Linked DNA regions of Homo sapiens: all the other regions are linked to region 7. The links are contacts of gene promoters, found by promoter capture Hi-C in blood cells and fetal thymus (Javierre and others, 2016). All regions are on one chromosome and are shown on one strand. The core of a region is centred on a gene start or on the middle of the fragment in contact, and the rest is flanking DNA. Distances in the headings are between cores, read along the strand shown.

Evidence for each region. The method cuts DNA at HindIII sites, captures the fragments that hold promoters and counts their contacts. A CHiCAGO score of 5 or more calls a contact.
Region 1: a fragment that was not itself captured here is called in contact with the fragment with the promoter of MCTP1 in region 7 in 1 of 17 cell types (megakaryocytes); the score reaches 5.9 in megakaryocytes.
Region 2: a fragment that was not itself captured here is called in contact with the fragment with the promoter of MCTP1 in region 7 in 1 of 17 cell types (monocytes); the score reaches 6.1 in monocytes.
Region 3: a contact is called between a fragment that was not itself captured here and the fragment with the promoter of MCTP1 in region 7, in 3 of 17 cell types (M2 macrophages, megakaryocytes and monocytes). The highest score is 7.9, in M2 macrophages.
Region 4: a fragment that was not itself captured here is called in contact with the fragment with the promoter of MCTP1 in region 7 in 5 of 17 cell types (megakaryocytes, monocytes, M2 macrophages and 2 more); the score reaches 11.4 in megakaryocytes.
Region 5: a fragment that was not itself captured here is called in contact with the fragment with the promoter of MCTP1 in region 7 in 2 of 17 cell types (monocytes and M1 macrophages); the score reaches 5.7 in monocytes.
Region 6: a fragment that was not itself captured here is called in contact with the fragment with the promoter of MCTP1 in region 7 in 1 of 17 cell types (megakaryocytes); the score reaches 6.6 in megakaryocytes.

The regions. Positions count from the first base shown.
Region 1 is chr5:95,640,721-95,643,673 of GRCh38, reverse strand. No RefSeq gene overlaps it. Among named protein-coding and RNA genes, the nearest start is that of RFESD, 4.6 kb to the left of the region's middle. The HindIII fragment of the contact is 1,327 bases long and covers 738-2,064 here.
Region 2 is chr5:94,992,167-94,995,219 of GRCh38, reverse strand. The region is part of intron 2 of MCTP1 (multiple C2 and transmembrane domain containing 1); the gene reads left to right. Among named protein-coding and RNA genes, the nearest start is that of MCTP1-AS1, 15 kb to the right of the region's middle. The HindIII fragment of the contact is 1,423 bases long and covers 742-2,164 here.
Region 3 is chr5:94,949,817-94,952,547 of GRCh38, reverse strand. The region is part of intron 3 of MCTP1 (multiple C2 and transmembrane domain containing 1); the gene reads left to right. Among named protein-coding and RNA genes, the nearest start is that of MCTP1-AS1, 28 kb to the left of the region's middle. The HindIII fragment of the contact is 4,291 bases long and covers 1-2,731 here.
Region 4 is chr5:94,972,496-94,975,202 of GRCh38, reverse strand. All of the region lies in intron 2 of MCTP1 (multiple C2 and transmembrane domain containing 1), which reads left to right. Among named protein-coding and RNA genes, the nearest start is that of MCTP1-AS1, 4.8 kb to the left of the region's middle. The HindIII fragment of the contact is 2,436 bases long and covers 83-2,518 here.
Region 5 is chr5:94,932,148-94,934,847 of GRCh38, reverse strand. All of the region lies in intron 5 of MCTP1 (multiple C2 and transmembrane domain containing 1), which reads left to right. Among named protein-coding and RNA genes, the nearest start is that of MCTP1-AS1, 45 kb to the left of the region's middle. The HindIII fragment of the contact is 4,524 bases long and covers 1-2,700 here.
Region 6 is chr5:95,613,016-95,615,970 of GRCh38, reverse strand. No RefSeq gene overlaps it. Among named protein-coding and RNA genes, the nearest start is that of GPR150, 5.6 kb to the left of the region's middle. The HindIII fragment of the contact is 4,485 bases long and covers 1-2,955 here.
Region 7 is chr5:95,283,320-95,286,382 of GRCh38, reverse strand. It overlaps MCTP1 (multiple C2 and transmembrane domain containing 1), which reads left to right and starts at 1,289. Exons shown (of 23, transcript NM_024717.7): 1 at 1,289-2,527. The coding sequence starts at 1,808. RefSeq lists silencers at 1,941-2,000, 2,081-2,200. The HindIII fragment of the contact is 7,244 bases long and covers 1-2,765 here.

The DNA.
Region 1 (2,953 bases), core at 152-2,651, 360 kb before region 7:
TGATAATTCATAGCTATCTCTAATTTCATTGTGTTCAAAATCGAAATACTAGTTCTCTCCCATAAATCTGCATTTCTTTGTCTTCTCCATCTCTATAAGTGACAACACTGTCCATCTTCAGGCTTAAGGGAGAAATCTGCATGTCTTCCTTGACTCTTCCCTTTTCCTTGTCGCACCCCTTCCTGCCCGTCTGTAGAGAAAGGAGTTCGCATAGCTGACCTGAGACTGCTATCCTTAAAAAGGTCTGCTTGTAAGGTTGGCCCTTCGCTGACATGTGAGAACTTGGCAGGTAAACAGTCCCTTACTGTCGTGCCAAAGCCCTATTAACCTCAGTAGGAAAGGAACCAGGTTCAAGAGGCCGAAGAAGAGACCTAGAGCCAGCAAACAAAACATGGTGTTTTATTAGGTGCTTACAGAGTCCAGTGGTGGTGGGATGGGCAGGAAAACTGCAACCGCCTGCAACCATCATGCAGTTTATATGGTATTTTCACTTTATACCCTCCCCCTAACAATCTCCACCTGGCAACCTTCATGTATCCCAAAATTCAGGGCCTCAGTCCCCTATATTAGATGTTTCTCATAGATAAAGAATGACTCTTCAGGTTAGCTACTCCCAGATTCCCTAGCTCAGAACATACATTCAGGTGCATCTGCCATATGGGGTCATTCTGAGGGTATGCATAAATTATTACTATCAGGTGAGTTTATCCGACACCTACACCTACACATACAAAGCTTTCCCTAAATAATAAAAGTGATTCCCTGTGCGTAAGCTATTTGTACAAACAATGCACTTGCTTTTCCTTCTGAGATTCTAGAACTTGGTACCTGCTAGGCAGAGGTGCCTGTGACCAATGTCCAGTAAAAACTCTGGCTGCTGAGGCTCAGTCTTTCCCTGGCAAAAACATTGCAGGCATGTTTCTACATTTTCATTTCTGGAGGAAGAATGCAGTCTGTGTGACCCCTCGCGAAAGGGAGAACACTTAGGAATCCTGCACACGAAGTCTTCCATGCTCTGCCTGAGTCTTTTTCTTTACAATCCAGCTGTGTATCCTTACTACGTTTCTGTAATAGCGTAACTGTAATGAGTCCCAGAATCTAGTGAATCTCCAAATGTGAAGGGGGTCTTAGGGACCCTTGATATCCCCCCATATCTAATCCAGCACTGAGTCCTGCCAATTCTTCCTAAAATTTATCTGAAATCACACCGCTTCTTACCTTATCTGCTATCACCACCCTGAAGGTACCATCATCTTTTATTTGTGTTGGACTTTGAGAGGGCCCAATAACACCTTTCTTTTATTTTCTGCCTGAGTTTGGAACCAGTTGAGAGACACAGAAAGAGATCAAGGTGTGAGCTTTATTTAATTATGAACGTCTCAATTGGGGTGGCTTAAACATGCAGCCAAAGGGACTAACAGCCTCCTGAATTAAACTTATGTATCAAAACTCTCTTAAAACTGTCCTCTCTAGCGGACAGACTAGATTGTACCCTCTCTACAGGTACACAAATCTGTAGAAAGAAGAAAGGAGCTAAGCTGAGCATACCAGGAGAAGTGAGTGAAGGTTGGAGATTTGACTAGCTGAAACACTTCTTGTTCACTGCTGATTTTTATCTTCCTGGTGGGACTCCAAGTCCTGAGCATTAAGCAAATGATACACAGCTGACGTAAGTGGGGGTGTGGAGAAGAGAGTCTGATCAGCAAATACCACCGAACCTACATTGAGCCTGAAGCAAAACACTGGCCATTTGTACCAAGCCAGGCTTAGCAAATACACACAACAGAGCTATGTGGGCCCAGCAAAGGCAAACCCCAGAGAGCTTTAGGTGACGTGGGCCTCGGGTGCAAGCTGCTGCTCCTTGACCTTCAACAACATTCAGAACATATTCATTCTGCTACACTGAGTGTTAGCAGAGATAGGGAGGCCACAAAGACCTAAGAAAGCAGGTATAACTAAGACAAGGTCTAAATTATGTCTTTAAGGACTTTGGCCTTTCAGACAGTAGTGGGTAGAGTCAGGTTTGCTGCAGTTAGAGGTAGTGATATTGATGAAACTGAAGCTTCAGGTTCCCATATTTGCATGGGGCCTTCCAAGATCCTGAGGTCCTGAGGGACACTAGTAATGTGTTCACATGGTCATATGCTCTCGCCCTCTCACCCCTACCCCTCACATATATAATTATATATAATTTGGTAACAAACACAAAAATACAGAAAAATACAGGGAAACTCTATTCCCAAACGCCCATTTGAGAGTATAGTACCAATCTGATGCCCCGTCAGTCCCTAATGCTTTAGTATGTATTTTCTCCAAATCTGGACATTCTTCTACATAACCACAATACAACCATCCAAATCAGGAAGTTAACACTGACACACTACCATCTAATCCTCAAATTCAGTTCAGAATCAAGATTGTATGTTTAGTTTTCATGTCTCTAGCTTTCTTCAGTCTGAGATATCTCCTTAGTCTTTCTTTAACATTTATGATATTTGCATTTTTGAAGATTACAGGCCATTCATTTTGTAGAATATCCCTCAGTTTGAGTTCATCTGATGTTTCCTCCTGATTAGATTCAGGTAATGAAGGCACATCACAGAGACTGGACTTTGAGCCTCTGTAGGCTGCCCCTTGATTCCCTTCCCACTGGGCTTGAGCTGGCCGTGCTATGTCACTACACCATGTTGCCATCTATCCCACTAGGGCTCTGACACTCCTCTGTGAGCCACCTTGGTCACTCCTCCTTCTCATCCCCCTAGCCAGCATGTGTGTCTTCCCCGCTCTGTCCCACCTACTGGCTTTAGGACTGAATTGTTCAGAAAGGAGAAAGAAGACAGGGAGGAATAATGATAATAATGTTTTTGTAAAATGTGTAAAAGCAAAGTAATTTAACTTCTGTGGATCAAGGCCATTGTTTTTCTTCTGTCACTCAGACATTTTGGGGACCTGG
Region 2 (3,053 bases), core at 204-2,703, 290 kb after region 7:
AGTTTGAGAACCACGGATGTAAAAGATATCTAAAGAATCTCACTGCCCCCCGTCTTAGTCAGCGTTCTCTAGAGGGACAGAACTAATAGGATAGATGTATATATGAAGGGGAGTTTCGTAGGAGAATTGACTCACACAATCACAAGGTGAAGTCCCACAATAGGCCGTCTGCAAGCTGAGGAGCAAGGAAGCCAGTCCTAGTCCCAAAACCTCAAAAGTAGGAAGCCGATAGTGCAGTCTTCAGTCTGTGGCCAAAGGCCCAAGGGCCCCTGGCAAAACACTGGTGTAGATCCAAGAGTCTAAAAGCTGAAGAACTTGGAGTCTGATGTTCAAGGTCAGGAAGCATCCAGCATGGGAGAAAGATGTAGGCCAGAAGACTTACCCAGACCAGTCCTTCCACATTCTTCTGCCTGCTTTTATTCTAGCCCTGCTGGCAGCTGATTAGATTGTGCCCACCCAGATGGAGGGCGGGTCTGCCTTTTGCAGTCCACTGACTCAAATGTTAATCTCCTTTGGCAACACCCTCACAGACACACCCAGGAACAATACTTTTCATCCTTCAATCAAATCAAGTCGACACTCAGTATTAACCATCACACCCCTCAACATACACACACTACAGATAATCACTTGCAGTCACAGGCAGACAAACAGAAAACTGCCACACCAATTACTATATACAATTTTAACACATAGGTAAATAAATGAAACTATGACCACAAACTGTATGTTAAAAAAGCTTCCTAGGACAAACTACAAATGTAGCCAAAAGATCTCAGTAAAGGATTATTTACTCACCGTAGGCTATTTTCCTAAGAGTTTTGATCACACTCTAGTAACACAGCTATATGGAATTCCTCAAATACAAAACACAGACCACAGAATTCCTCAGATTTAAGACACTCTCTAGATACCCGTGAAACTCTCTGGCTCTTCTTCCTGGAGCTCCTGATGTCCTTTGTATACTAAATTGTCCCTCCAGCCTCACTCAGGCCTTCAGGCCAATTTCATTTCTCTAAGGCCTACGGTTAGATGACAAGATACCATAAACCACAGAATAAGAGCCAGTTCAAATGGTCATAGACTTTGACATAGGGAGCTCTGAACCTGAGCTCAAATTGCCATGTCTTTGAAAAGTCTGGTAGTTTGTTGGTCATAGCTGCTCTTAGGAGGACAGAATCTTGCGTGTTCTTGTGTTGTTCCTTAATCGAAAGGTTGACATCTGCTTGACTTTGGTAGTTCCTATGAAGCAGAGAATTTCAATGGGTCTTCCCAGAATTGTGGGGAAAAAACCGTTTAGTCAATTTAGTTATTGAGCATGTGTCTGAAATCTATTGCAATCTTGTTTGCAAGTGAAAAGGCCCTTTGCAGGCCAATTTAAAGATTCACTCCCAAGAACATTTTATTGATAAGTTTTTAATGCCTACATTTCTTTATTTCATCCTAAAAGCAAACACAAAGTTTCTAGATCAGAGGCCAGACATTATTTACGGTTCAGTTCCCCATCTGTACTCTCCCCCTGTGGAGGGATGCAATGAGAACAGATGGCAGCTGCATTTACAGTGGGTTGGATTGCTGGAGAGGAGCCCCAAAACTATGCCATTTAGAGTTTCTGTAAAAGCTGTTGCACAGCAGCCCCTCATCCCATCTTGAGAGAGAGAAAAAGATTTAGTTTTTCTAATATAAACAAATCATCTCTTGGGAAAATAAGGGAAGGTTCCTAGGTCTTTGCAACCCTTTGAAATGTAAAGTCATGGCTCTATGAAGAGAAAATAGTCCTGGGAAAAAAAGAGACATTATCTTTACAGCATGAGTTCATCATTTATTATGTTCCAGGTGTTGTTTTACACTTCTGTATTGCATAGATTTTGTCCACTGTGAATACGTGTAGATGCTCCGTAATTATGACCTGAAGTGAAATTTTCTTCATAGTTGAAGAATGATCAATTTATCCCTCTAAACATTTTTAAAGTGTAGACTGCTGAGTTGTTTAGTATTTTAAAGGATTCTAGTTTTATGTCAAAATGTACTCAAAGGCAATGACTACAAACATTGTATGTTTAACTTTTTCTAAAACTTCTAGTGTTTTGGGAACTTACTACGTATTGAAAAAAAGTTATCTGAAAATAAATCCTAGTTGAATTGAAAAAGAATGAACAAAGCTTTGTTCTTTATTAAAGAAATTCTGTGAGTGTAAGTTATAAGAATAACTAAAATAAATGGCTTTTCCCAAAAGCATAATCAAGTTTAAAAATTCTCAAACTTCAGTTAATTTCTTTTAAATGATATTTTATTAGCAGTCTGTCATAGAAGAAAAGACCATGTTTTTAAGTTGAGTTCTTCAGAAGCATACTCTGAGACAGGAATTTGTCTTTCTTTGAGAGACAATTCCGGAAAGCAGTGCTAAGGCAGATAAAAGGAAGGTTGAGATGGGGAAGGGATGGGGGCCAACACAGGGTGAATTAAGAGGGCCTCTGGGACCTCTGGGACAAGTGTAGAGTTCTCAGCAAGTCCCACTGAGGAACCAAAAAGATGGGTATTTATTTAGCAATTCCCATTTGCCATCTGTTAAGCCCTACTCCCAAAGACATTGTACCTGTGGCCTGGCCTATGCATGGGCCAAACGCACTCCTGTGGCTGCATAAAGTCGTAGGAGCTTGAGATTGGAATTGGAGATACTGTGTAGGAGAACTGAGAGTGCAGACAGGATATGGCTGGCTACCCACAGCATTTGCTACAGCACAGGTCTGGTGTCAGACCAGAACTAAGTCACTGAATAAGCTTCAAAATGGGGATAACAAAAGCATCTGCCTCCTACACTTGTTCTAAAGAGTAGATGGGATTCTACACATAAGGTTTTAGAAAAAGGCATAAAGTAAGTCCTCTGATAATCTGTTTTCATCATCATCATCATCATCATCATCATCCTCAACATTATTATACTTAGCATCATATTAACTAAAACGTTATTGGTGAAGTTAGTGAATATTCCCAAATGAGAACTGCAAGGATTTGTTTTCTTTTCCATTATTTTTAGTGAGTATTATATATTC
Region 3 (2,731 bases), core at 184-2,683, 330 kb after region 7:
CTTTTTCTACTTTTACCACAACAGCACACATCCCACCCTTTTCCCTAAGTTGTTACTACTGGCACATGAGCCAGAAATCTCATCTTTCAGCAATCACTAGGCATACTTCTTCCCCTCATATCATCATTGTATTACCTCTAGTTGTTTCTTTCCTCCACAGAAAGGAACAAGAAATAATCAAGTTGTTACTGAAATTACAAGAGGGTAGCTTATAAGAAGGTTGAAAAGAGAATCTCATAAGTATACATAAGGATACAGTTAATTTTCTATAAGTCATTATGGGGCAAATAGACACACACTTGCATAATAAATTGTCTCCATTGGACACTGGCTAAAGAAAATCAATTCAATAGCTTTTTTTTTTTTTTTTTTTTTTGCGACAAAGTCTCATTCTGTCACCCAGGCTGGAGTGCAGTGGCACGATCTTGGCTCACTGCAACGTTCATCTCTTGGTTTCAAGCCATTCCCTTGCCTCAGCCTCCTCAGTAGCTGGGATTACAGGTACCCACCACCATGTCTAGTTATTTTTTGTATTTTTAGTAGAGATGGCATTTCACCATGCTGGCCAGGCTGGTCTTGAACTCCCGGCCTCAAGTGATCTGTGCTCCTCGGCCTCCCAAAGTGCTGGGATTATAGGCATGAGCCACCGTGCCCGGCCTTAAATAGCGTTTTTGAACTGTCTTTAACTACATAATATGGGATGGCACAATAACGTTAATATGAGAGTGTGCGTAGCCAACCCTTCTCCCACGAAAGGGAAGACCTTTGTGGTCAGAGATTTTTCTGCCCTGCTCCTCACTTCTAGAGAGAAAGAAATATCCACATGAGAAAAAAAGGAATTATCTTTGTAATAAAGAGCTGAGATAGGCAATGAAAAAGGAATAAAGAAAAGACAAGTGGGCTGTGAAGGAAGTATTATTTCTGGGGTGGGGAGGTGGGAGATCAGGAGACATGAGTTAGAGCAATGGCAGGTATGAAGAAAATGGTCAGGAAAGAAAGCAGGTATTAATAAGGACAGCAACAGGCTGTTTGGATCTCATTAATGTTGCTGAAGTGAAAAATCATGAGAAGAAAGAAGTTTATTTTTAATTACTTCTACTTAGTGGGATATTACTCCATGAAAGAACCATGTGACTGTCCTGTCTTTGAAAGGGTTACATATGAATTTCCTCAAATTATATTAGATATTGGTCAGGTGCTTTTCTTATTCTTTTGTGCTCAAGAATAAGTATTCATCTATGTAGAAATCCAAATGCCAAGATGCATTTTTCAAAAGGAATGTCTTACTAGGCTCAAAAAGAAATAAACAAAAAACTGAAGTACACAAAAAAAGAATGGTGGTGTTCTGACTTGTAAGTGGGAGCTACATAATGTGCACACATGGGCATAGACAGTGGAATGATAAACACTGGACAGTTGGAAGGATGAGGGGGTAGCAAGGGGCTAGATGATGAAAAATTCCTTAATGGGTGCAATGTATGTTATTCAGATGATGGATACCCTGAAAGTCCTGACTTGACTGCTATGCACAATCTACACATGTAACACAACTGTACTTGTACCCCATAAATTTACACAAAATCATTTTTTTTTTTTTTTTTGAGACAGAGTCTTGCTCTGTCGCCCAGGCTGGAGTGCAGTGGCACGATCTCGGCTCACTGCAAGCTCCGCCTCCTGAGTTCACGCCTTTCTCCTGCCTCTGAGTAGCTGGGACTGCAGGTGCCCACCACCTTGCCCAGCTAATTTTTTGTATTTTTTAGTAGAGAAGGAGTTTCACCTTGTTAGCTGGGATGGTCTCGATCTCCTGATCTCGTGATCTGCCCTCCTCGGCCTCCCAAAGTGCTGGGATTACAGGCACGAGCCACCGCGCCTGGCCAAAATTTTTTAAATTGTGGCAGAAATGGTCTTGACTTGAGAGCAAGAATATACATGTATGTATGTATATGTATAAATATACAGTATAGGTGTATATATGTATGTATCTATACATATACTCTATATATATAGTCTGCATATATACAGTACACATACATATACTATAAATGTACATAAACTGTAAATGAAGACAGCAACACTGTATGCAGGCCAGAAGGCTTGGTTAATCACACACTATGAGTAAAGAAACTAAGAAAGCAAGCCCAAAGGTTGTTGGGTTTTTTTTAAATCACTTTGAACTTTCAATATATAAGATTATGTAGCCTAGCCACAATTTAACTTCTACCATACAGAAGAGGATACACAGTTACTTTTAAATATTTTTATACTTTACTTACATTTTTACATTGTCACTTTTTACATTTCTATATGAGAAAGACAATTAAGTTAAATAGAAATCATACAAGTCTCTGAGATACTAGTACACATATAAAATGATGTCACTTTATTATATACAATACTTTATAATATTTTAAAAGTATTAAATATACTTTCTAAATGCTTTCCTATTTTTTTTCAGTTGATTTTCATTTTCTGTAAAATGCCTAGGGCTTTTTTTGAAAGAAAATCTCTAACTTTTTGCTTTATTTTTTCCATTATTTGTGTTCCATTTTTTGCCTCATCTTAGGGGAAGAATCAAATAAGGTACCTTGGTGGAAATAACATTTGAAGTTATTAGAATTTCATAAAAATTGCATCATTTTTATTGTCTCTATGCAGGCCTGTGTGTTTGAGTGACTCAGTTCTGATATGATGCCCACATCCTCCACAACAGATTATTAATCTTGCCCAAAAG
Region 4 (2,707 bases), core at 51-2,550, 310 kb after region 7:
TGTGCCCCTCTTCACCCCTTTCCCTTTGTCTTGAGTGTCCTACCCCACCATGGCCAGTCTTCTTTCAGTATTTATTCAAGCTTCACTGCTGCTTGGACACCTTCCCTGATCCATTCTAAAATCACTGAGAAAGAAATGAAGAATTAAAAGCAAGGGAATAACAGAAAAACAATCGTAAGATTTTGGAGAATGAATTGAAATAAGGAAGACTAGAAGCATGGAGACAAATAGAAGACCATTGGCTTGCCTTTTTTCTCAAAGTGAATATATGAATAGTCTAAGAAATGTATTATTTCATTACCATGGTCATTTGTGATGTATTTTAATCACATTGTAATATAATTGCTTGAAATTATTCCAGTTAATGATAGTAATTAATCTACAAAAGTCGTGCAACTATTTGTATTGTTATTACTTATGGTTTTAGCTGATAAGGAGATTTTTTTGGTTTTTTTTAGGGTCATAATCATTTTTTTCATGCATATATTCTATAGGATCTGGTTATTTTAATGGCACTTTTTTGATACTTAGGTTTATTTATATAATATTTGTAATTAATTATAGGCTTTTTCTCTTGACTTAACAAAGCCAATGAATCCTCTGAAAATAATAATTACTACTTTTTGCTGTATACTTATGTATTATTATTTTTCAGGGATAGGGTCTTGCTCTGTTGCCCAGGCTGGAGTACAGTGGCACAATGAGAGCTCACTGCAGCCACCAACTCCTAGACTCAAACAGTCCTCCTGTCTCAGTGTCCCAAGTAACTGGGACTACAGGCATACCACCATGCCCAGCTAATTTTTTAAAAAAATTTTGTAGATACAGGGTTTTACTGTTGTTGCCCAGGCTGGTCTCAAACTCCTGACCTGAAGAAATTCTCCCACCGTGGCCTCCCAAAGCATTGGATTACAAGTGTGAGACACTGTGCTTGTTCTATTTATGTATTCCTAAATGATTAGGAAAAATAGATAATTAGTAACTGTTATCTCAATTGAAATAAATCATTCCACATATGAAATCAGAGATTTGATAACCATTTTAATATGTTTGTAGTTCTTTATTTAAATTTAATTATATTGAGTCAAGTTTTCAGATTGTTAAGTAATTATATTACTTTGTCTTCATGTTGAGTAAGATGAAGAAAAATTGCTAATAGTTATTGAATGTTTATTTTGTGGGAGGAACTGTGCTAAGTACTTGATATGTATTATGTAATTAAACCCTCACAATGACCTTAAGGAGGTTCTATAATCGTCTCCATTTCTATCTATGTGCATCTTCTACTTGTGCAAGTCCACACAGCTTGTAAGTGCAGGAGCAGAGATTGGAACCCAGGCTTTCTAACTTGGAGGTCGAACTGTGAACTACCCTGTACCACACTAAACCATCTCTATTACAGATGGAGTGGTCATGAGCCTTTTCATCCCCCTCAGAAATATACTAAGCAATCTCATACCTTTTAATTATATTTTTCTATAGAGCACCATTAAGCAATTTTATTTGTTGCAGAAAGACACCCAGTTTTAGGCTTCTGAATAAGTGCCTAGCTTAGCAAAGGTAATATATTAACAGTAATGTATGTCATTCATACAAGCCAACAAATATTTATTGAGCACTTGAGTACCTGCTTTGTGGCAGGTTCTGGGATGCAAAAATGGTCTCTGTCTTCATACTATTTTTGGTCTAATGGAGACAAAAGACACTAAATAACTCATCTTCCCCGTCAAATTCACTGAGTGGGTGTAACCAATACTCTGTTATGCTAATGGCACAGAATTAATAATTGCCAAATTGATTGAGATCCATGGCTTCCCTAGTATACAATCTTGTCTCTCATGGGGGAACCAGGAGATAGATTATGGAAGGGCTGAGCCCAAAAATAATAGTTTGAGGTAGACGGGACAAGTCGGTTGATCGGAAAAGATGACGATGGTTAGGCATCACAGTGTAATGAAGTAAATTTGGAATCTAGAATCAAATAGCTCTTGTAATGGATTCTAGAGCTGCCACTGCTTACAAGTTAGGTAACCAGGTCAAGCAGCCTAATCTTTCTGAACCAGTTTACTCATCTGTAAAATACTGAGAATACTAATTTATTCATTTGCTTGACAAACATTTATTAGATGCCTCCTTTGTGCTAGTTTAACCCAACTCACAGGGCTAGAGTTATAACTAAATAAAATATTGTATTAAAAGCACAAGGCACACAGTAGATACTCAAGAAAGTTAGTTCTCTCCCTCCTCAACCCAGTGGTTTTTTTTTTGTTCATTTAGTGGACTTTGCCTTTCAGTTCTGTAAATGAGAAACCCCCTTGCCTAAGAATGGCCAGGCTATGGGAAAAGCTGGTTCATCCCCCATAGTCTTATTAAACTGAATTGAATGGGACTCACACAAAATTGATTGGCTCTGTGAAGTCATATGAATCATTCTAATTAAGAAACATGCTTTTCTAGAAGGAAAATCTATTTGAAAAGTTGTTTCTTAATTAGAATGATTTAGGATGCAAACTAAGCTTCTGGTAACAAGAGACCCAACTTTTCTGATAATTTTTAAAATTATATTTTCTTCCACATGAACCCCAGAAAGATCTAGAGCTGATGATATGGTTCTGCTCTCATCACTGTGTGGTTTCCATCTCTTGTCTAAAGCAACTGCTCCATTTTCACCATAAGACCCAGAAGTTGCATAGGTCACTTATTCTCA
Region 5 (2,700 bases), core at 185-2,684, 350 kb after region 7:
AAATAACCTAGACCTACAAATTGCTTGCCTAAGGCTAAAAAATAGAAAATTCAAAGAAACATATGAATGATCTCAGTTGGCCTTTGATGAGTAAAAAAAAAAAAAAAAAACTTCTTTATCTTGGATTAGTTTTGATATTCTTCAGAATTATTACACAGCCAACATTTGAAGAAATATCTACCTACAAAAAGTTGATATATGTATGCTTTACAAGATGTATGTTACTATTGTATCTAATTCTGTGATTTCTTTATATGTACAGTAGTTATATAATCGCCTTAAAAAGTCACTTCAACAAAAGATAAAAATTAAAAAATGGATTGAGATCGTGGAGTCTTTTAAAAACAATTACTTCTGCAGCTCTATCACAAGCCATATTTTTATGCTACTTCATTCCTTTTACTGGCTTCAAGGAAGTTGAGCTGCTAATGAAGAATTTGAATTGTACTATAATAATATCAGGCAATAATCCTTTCAAAAATTAATTCATATGTTTCTCAGCTGAAGTTAAGATCATAGAGCAAAAAAATAAATCTTATTTTTCTATAATTTGCTTCATCTTCTATCTTTCACAATCCCCAATCTTTCTTCTCTAACATGTCTCACAGATAGCAAAGAAAACATTATTAATAGTATATATATTAAATTTTCTTTTTAATTTTTCTACTGTTTTCAGTTTTATTGAATCGACCTTAACTCAACTACCTAAAAGAAAAAGGGACTTGGAAGTGAGATACTTAAACCCATTGCTTTGGTAGTAGATTTGGCTCAAGAGGCAGAAATGTTATAAAATCTAGGGTCATTTTGAGAGTTACTGGATATAGTAATAGAACTTTAGATACTGAATTAGGAAAATAGTGAATGGGTTCTCATAACTGCTAAATCTTTCCTATTTATACTTAGGGTAATCACTGACTTTTTATTGTATCAGTTTCTCAATCTGAAAAATAAAACCATGCAGCCTGCTTATAAAGCTGATTTTGAGAGACAGGACAAATACTGGTCCTATGTTTTGTTTACTATAGAAGGTTAATTGTATGTGGTCCTTGTGAGTCAGGGGATGTGACTTTGTGGAATCCTTGTAATATTGGCTAGTGTTGCCATGAGATTTCACTCTTTCTAATGTTCTAAGGCCCTTTTACATAGCATAACATTTCTTATATAATGGAATTTTATATTATAAAATTCTTAGATGCTAGATAATGATGATAAGTGACCATGAATTGTAGATTGTACTTTTTATGTATCTTAATAGTTCTTGATTGATTTGACTCAAAATATCATCTCTAGGATATACCATTCTTTGTCCATTGAAACTCTGCTTGGTGAGAAAGTTGAGTGTTTATTATCCAACTCTTATGGGGCAGTTTTTGTAAATATGGTATACCACTTAAATATTTGGTTTCCAGTTGCCTTTTGGTGATGATGGAGGAAGTGATGGTGGTGGTGATGATGATGATGATACTGATGATAATAAATCATGTAACATCAAAAGTAAAGATTTAGTACATGTCCCCCTAGATGGCCACCTCTATAACCCAATGCTGGGATTTGTTGCTTCAAAATGAACTGGACATTTAGTACTTTGAAAACATAAAGTATTTCTATAATAGTATTTGATAACAGTGCTTTGCAGTTTCCTGACTTTAAAAAAAAAAGTAGGCGTGATGAGGAATCATTGTAACCTTAGGAAATCTATTATTCTTTTATGTTTTGGTCAACATTTAACAGTCTTTGTTAAGGAGGAACATATAATTATCTTTGAAAACATAAAAGAGGAACATATAATTATCTTTGAAAATGTTACGCTAGTCTTAGTTTTTACCCTAGAATGTCTAAATTCATTCTTGTGGTTTAGGTTAAAGGTTGCCCTCATCTTATATTAAAAATCTTTTCATTTTTGTGTTATTCTAATCCATGAATAGTTTCTGACATGGTTCTTTTTTATGGTGAATCCTCCTGAAAGAGATACAGTTCTTAAAGTACATTTCCCTGATACACAAATATGGCACAAGCACTTTAAGCTATATTCCTTGCCCTGAATATTTCCTATTCTCCACTTCATCTGCCTTAAACATAATAGTAAAGCAAAGAGAGGGGAAAGAGGTTAATCAGGAAGGTTAATACTTCAGTGTTCATTGAGAAATTTTTTAAAGTGAAGAGAGAAAACAAAAAAATTCGTTGGGCTTTTATGATTTAGTTTATTCAAGAGATTAGTGATCTTGGGGATGCATTACAAAGCTCTAGAACCTTAATTAAAACTTTTGGCCATACATATTTCTTAGTATGACACAAGCTAACTAATTTAAAGGATATGCTTTCACTAAACGTTTAGCAGGAAAATACACTAGTAGCCATCACAGTATGCAGCATTTGTTTTTAATTGAAAGCATTTGTAGGCCCTGATGTAGTTAAAGATTAACTGGAAACAGAGACAATTCTACGATGCCATCCAAGCAAAAGATTTTGAATGTGTTTGAAGAGAAAAATTATTATATACCTGTTCAAGTCATGTACAACCTCAACCTCCACCACCAAAAGGAGCCATTGGAAATTATGAGACTCAATGTGTTTTTTTTCAGTCAATAAAGGCATCCCGATACTGTTCCTTTTTTTTTTTTTTTTTTTTTTTTTACAAAGGAATAAATCAAATGAACTCTCACCAGAAAGACTGCTGGAATGTTAAAGTTGTTTCTCTAG
Region 6 (2,955 bases), core at 192-2,691, 330 kb before region 7:
AAAATCCTGTCATTGGAATTGCTGAGGCTGAGCACGTGCATTTTTAATGCATTTTAACATATAGTACTGAGTTATTCTCAACAAGGGATGCAAGCAATGTATGTGTCTTTTTCCCCATAGCCCCAACAATATGAGCATCATCAGCGTTTGTCATTCTCATAGATGAAAACACTTCATTATTTCTTCATTTTAAAAATTGAGATATACTTTATATATCATAAAATCTAGAATTTTAAAGTATACAATTCAGTGCTTTTTAGTATATTTACAAGTTTGTGCAACCACTGCCACTATCTAATTCCAGAACTTTTAAATCATTCCCAAAATAAACCCGTACACATTATTTTCCTCTTCCAGCACCTAGAAACCACTAGTCTCCTTTGACTCTATGGATTTGGTTATTCTTGACATTTCATAGAAATGCAATCACATAATGTAGCCTTTTGTTTTTGGTTTCTTTTGCTTTGAATAATGTTTTTAAGTTTCATCCACATTGTAGTATGTAACAGTATTTCATTATTTATGGCTAAATAATATTTCATTATGTGGATACACCAAATTTTGTTTATCCATTCATCAGCTGATGGATATTTGGGTTGTTTCTATTTTAGGCTGTTTCCATTTTGGTTGTTTTCATTATAGTGAACAATTCTGTTATGAATATTTGTGTACAAGTTTTTCTGCGAATGCCTGTTTCAGTTCTCTAGAGTATATTCCTAGGTGTGAAATTGCTGAGTCATATGTGAATTTCATGTTTAACTTTTTGAGGAACTGCCAAGCTGTTTTCCATAGAGACTGGGCCCTTCCCACCATCATTGTATGAGTTTTCCAGTTTCTCCCTTTGCGTAGATGCAGTTTCTCATTTGAGATCATATTCCTTCTGCTTAAAGAATGTCCTTTAACATTTCTTATAGTTCAGATCTGCTGGCAACACATTCTCTTAGTTTTCTTTTTTTTTTTTTCTGTCTTATAAAGTTTTTATTTTACCTACATTTTTGAAAGATACTTTTGCTGGGCATATAGGATTCTATGATGAGTTTTTCTTTCAGTACTTGAAAGAAGTTGCACCATTGTCTTCTAGTTTGCATAGTGCTTGATACATTTTGCTCATCTTTGTAATGATGTAATTCTTATCTTTTTGTTTGTTTATTTGTTTGAGACAGAGTCTTGCTCTGTCGCCCAGGCTGGAGTGCAGTGGTGCAATCTTGGCTCGCTGCAACCTCTGCCTCCCGGGTTCAAATGATTCTCATGCCTCAGCCTCCCAAGTAGCTGGGATTACAGGTGAGTGCCACACGCGGCCAGGCTGGTCTCGAACTCCTGGCCTCAGGTGATCTGCCCAGCTATGCCTCCTAAAGTGCTGAGATTACAGGCATGAGCCACCGTGCCTGGCTGGTTTCTTTTTTTGGAGTGTTTCTTTTTTTCTGTGGTTGCATTCAAGATTTTCCCCTTATCTTGCCTCACTGCAACCTCTGCCACCTGGGTTCAAGTGATTCCCATGCCTCAGCCTCCCAAGTAGCTGGGACTACAGTCATGCACCACCATATCCATCTAATTTTTGTATTTTTATTAGAGATGGGGTTTCACCATGTTGGCCAGGCTGATCTCAAACTCTTGACCTCAGGTGATCCACCCGCCTTGGCCTCTCAAAATGTTGGGATTACAAGCATGAGCCACCGGGCCTAGCCCTTTGTATATATTCTGCTTGGGCTTCTCTAAACATTTAGGTTGGTGATTTGTTGTCTTTTATTAATTTTGGAAAATTCTCAGCAATTATCTTTTCAATTATTTCTTCCGACCTTTTATCTCTTTCTATTCTCCTTCTGTGACTTGAATTACATGTATATTATGCCATTTCATACTGTCCCACAGCTCTTGGATGCTCTATTTTTCTCCACTTTTTCTTTTTCTCTTTTTTCCCCTCTCTGTTCCAGCTCTCCTCAGAGGGGCTTGCCACCTTTTGAAATTCAGGATTTTATTTTGAAAATTTTCTATTCTAACCTGTAGTCAAGTTTACTAATTCTTTCTTCTATCTCTAGTCTGCTGATAAGGCAATTGAAGGAATTCCTCATCCATAATAACATGTTTTTCATGTCTAGTGTATCCAATTTATTCTTTTTTGAATCATTTCCATCTCTGCTGAAATTCTGTATATGTTCGTGCATGTGGTCCACATTTTCCACTAAATCCTTTAACATATTAATCATAGCATTTTTACAGTTACTTTGACAGTTTCAACCTCTGGGCCATCTCTCAGTCTGGTTCTGTTTACTGCTTTATCTCTTGAAAATTGGCTTCTTTTTTTTTTTTCTTTTTAACTCTTTTGCCTTGTAAGTTTTACTGAGTGCCAGACATTATATATAAAAGAATAAGAGTGACTGATGTAAATAGTGTTTACTTCTGAAAATGGCCATGCCTCTTCACTCATCAGGCTACTAGGGTGGTAAATCTAATCAGTAGTTGAGCTAGGTTTAGATTTTGTTGTTACTACAGTTATCATTATTATACTGTTGACTTCATATTCCTCCATACTGACATCTTGCGTTTCAACTATGAGGCCTGGAATGGTAGAAGGTTTTTCTCAGTGTTTCTGCTCCATCCCCAACTTTCAGCTGGCCCTTCACACTTGGCCACCAGAGTGGGGGAGGGGACGGGGATGTTTCTTTCCAGGCTTTGGCCCCTCTCCCAGAAGTTCTGTGCTGTTTGCTGCCCATGATGGGGGCAGGGTGGCTTTCTTGGCCTTCCTGTTCCAACCTTTGTCTTATTCAGGCCCTGGGGGCCTGAGCCTCAAGTGTGGGAGTTTCTCCATAATCCTGTCCCTTCCCTCTATGGCAGCTGAATTCTGTCTTGTAACTTCCAAGAGCAAATTTCTTGGTTCTGTCCCTTTTGTGAGAAACCTTTGCTTTGTAACAAAGATTCTGGGCATGAATAGGTTTCTCCATCTTGCTTAGCAGTGAT
Region 7 (3,063 bases), core at 40-2,539:
TACACATAATGTAAAAAACCAAAAACCTCTCCATATGGGGCTGCCAGATTTAGCAAACAAAAACATGACACCCAGTTAAATTTAAATTTCAGATAAATAATAGTATTTTAGTATAAGTATGTCCCATGCAATATTTGGGACATACATATACTAATATTATTCATTGTTTCTCTGAAAGTCAGTTTAATTGGGTGTCCTGCATTTTGTCTGGAAGCTCTTCCTCTGTAGCCACTCTGTTATGTGGTACCCTGCTTAACTGTTTCCATGGGACTTTTGCATATTAGAAATTCTGTTTATTGTCTCGCATCACCTCCCAACCCTCACCCTCACAATAAGCTCCATGTGGGTGGGACCCTGATGCCCTGTTCACAGCTGCATCCCCAGAGCCTATCACAGTGCCTGGTATATAGTAGGTGCTTAATAAATATTTGTTATAAAGGTAACAAAAACAAAACAAAACAAAAAACTTAGGTTGGTAACACCTCCAAAGCATACTGCTAGCTAGACAAGACTGATCAGTGTGCTACCGCAGCTTAGGGAACTCTCCCGTTTTCCCCATTTAGGAGGACGAAAGAGGCATTGTGTTGCTGGCCTTTCAGAAGTCTCTCCTAGCAGAATCAGAAGACCCTGGCTGAGCAGCTTTGGGAGAAGCAAAGTCTGAATGAGCTAAAAAGCCTTTTCCGTTTGCCTTGCAACAAGCAAATGAAGTAACCAAAGAAAAAATGCGCTTGAATGAAAAGAACAAGATTCTGTGCGTGCCGAATCGGATCAAAGGCAGTGCGCATCACCCATCTTCGTCCACCGTAAACTCCCTGCAACTTAAGGGCTGGCTTTATCGTCAGACTCCGGAAATGCTAGAACCTGATCATAAGAGACCAGTGCAGAGGCAAATAAAGAAAAGGGAGGGGTGGATGGGGATGAAGTCAAGACAGAAGAAATTAAACTCTCGTCTTGGACCCAGGGAGCGCAACGGGGCGGGGGCAGACGTCTTCAGCTTTAGAACTCCGTCGGGTTCATCGCTCAGTGTGGACGATCGGCGCCCCCACGAGACCCATCGAGGGCACATAGTTTCCACTCCAGCTCGCTTCATCCGACCCAGACGATCGCCAGCGCGGCCAGCGGCCAGCGCACAGCGAGCTGCCTGGGCAACTGTGGCCGGATCCTAGGGAGCAAGCTGGCTTCGGGCCCTACCTAGCTCCACCCGGCTCCTACCGGCCCTCCCACCTAGGAGCTGGAGGATGGTCCCGGGGCGCCCCAGGGGGACTGCTGGTCCCCGGAGTCTCCAGCCAGACGCGCCTTGTTGTGTGAGCCGCGTGCGCGCCCAATTTGGAGGCAGCCGCCCCCGCCGCTGACAGGTGCTGCCCAGAGGGCGCCGGGTGCGGTCCCTGGCGCAGCTGGACGCGCACGCCCCGGTGCGTGCAGCTTCCCGAGCTCGGTCAGAGAGAAGAGGGAGCCAGGGCGCGGCCTGGGGGACGCCAGTGGACTGGAGCCGCGGAGCTTCGAGGGAAAAACTTTGCAGGCGCCGCGGCCGGGATTCGGTTACGGCTCCAGCCCACCCCAGCAGGTGCGGGAGGAAGAGGCAGCGCCGGAGTCCCGAGGCCAGAGAGCCTCGGCGGCGGCGGCCGCTTCTTTCCCCCGAGCTGGCCTGAAGTCGCTGGGCACTCCCGGTTTCTGCTGCTGCGCCCGCCGCCGCCGCCGCCGCCACCGCCAGCGCCGCGGGGACCCGGGAGGAGGTGCAGCCGAAGAGGGAGGAGAAGCAGGAGGAGGAGGAGGAGGAGGAGGGGAGAGGAGGAGCAGGGGGTGGAGGATGGAGCCCCGGGCTGCCGCGGCGGGCGAGCCAGAGCCGCCGGCGGCGTCCTCCTCCTTCCAGGCCCGGCTCTGGAAGAACCTGCAGCTGGGGGTGGGCAGGAGCAAGGGCGGCGGGGGCGGGCGCGCTGGGGGTCCAGAGCGCCGCACTGCGGACACCCCGTCGCCCTCCCCGCCACCCCCGGTGGGCACAGGGAATGCACCGGCCAGGGGGAGTGGTGCAGGCAGCAGGTGGAGCGGCTTCAAGAAGCGGAAGCAAGTGCTGGACCGAGTCTTCTCCTCCTCGCAGCCCAACCTGTGCTGCTCGTCGCCGGAGCCCCTGGAGCCCGGCGGCGCCGGCAGAGCCGAGCAGGGGTCCACGCTACGCCGCCGGATCCGCGAGCATTTGCTCCCCGCCGTAAAGGGGCCCGCGGCGGCCTCGGGAGCAGCGGGAGGGACGCCTCCTGGCGGACGCTCCCCCGACTCAGCTCCTTCCTCTTCCTCCGCCTCATCCTCCCTGTCCTCCTCGCCCCAGCCTCCCCCGAGGGGGGACCGCGCCCGAGATGAGGGTGCACGGCGTCAGGGCCCCGGGGCGCACTTGTGCCACCAGAAGAGCTCCTCTCTGCCGGGCACCGCCTGCCTGGAGCAGCTGCTGGAGCCGCCGCCTCCTCCCGCAGAGCCGGCGCGGAGTCCCGCGGAGTCTCGGGCCCCGGAGACGGGCGAGGAGCACGGCAGCAGCCAGGTGAGTGCCGGTGGCGCGGCCGGAGACAAGGTGCGCGGGACCACGCCTCCCTCTTCAGGCGTTCACCACCCGGGGAGCGGGGGGCGGGGGCCGGGAGGCGGGAGGAGAAATGCTATTAATTCTAAGTAGATGAAACAGTCGAAAGAAAACATCTCGCTCTGGTTTAGCAAAGATGAAAGAGTTCTGACTTGCACCCGGACTTTACTTTTGGTAGAAATGATACCTGTCACCAGAAGCTTTCTGAGTAGTCAATGAAAAGTTAGACCTAAAGTGGGTACTTTTTAGAGTTCTCCTGAAAGGAGATGTCCAGCCAAATCTCATCTTGGCAAAAGAAAAAACTAACCCAATAACTTAAAAACAATTACGATCACGTGTGGTGGTGTGGAGAGGTACCATTGGAAGCAAATGGCTGGCGGGAAGAAATAGAAACGTGGAGAGGTAAATTATGGCACATGTGAGGTCCTGTGCCAGGGAAAGCATCATCTCAGGCCTGCATCCGGCACCCCTTTCTTAAACCTTCCTGCTGCAATTGGATC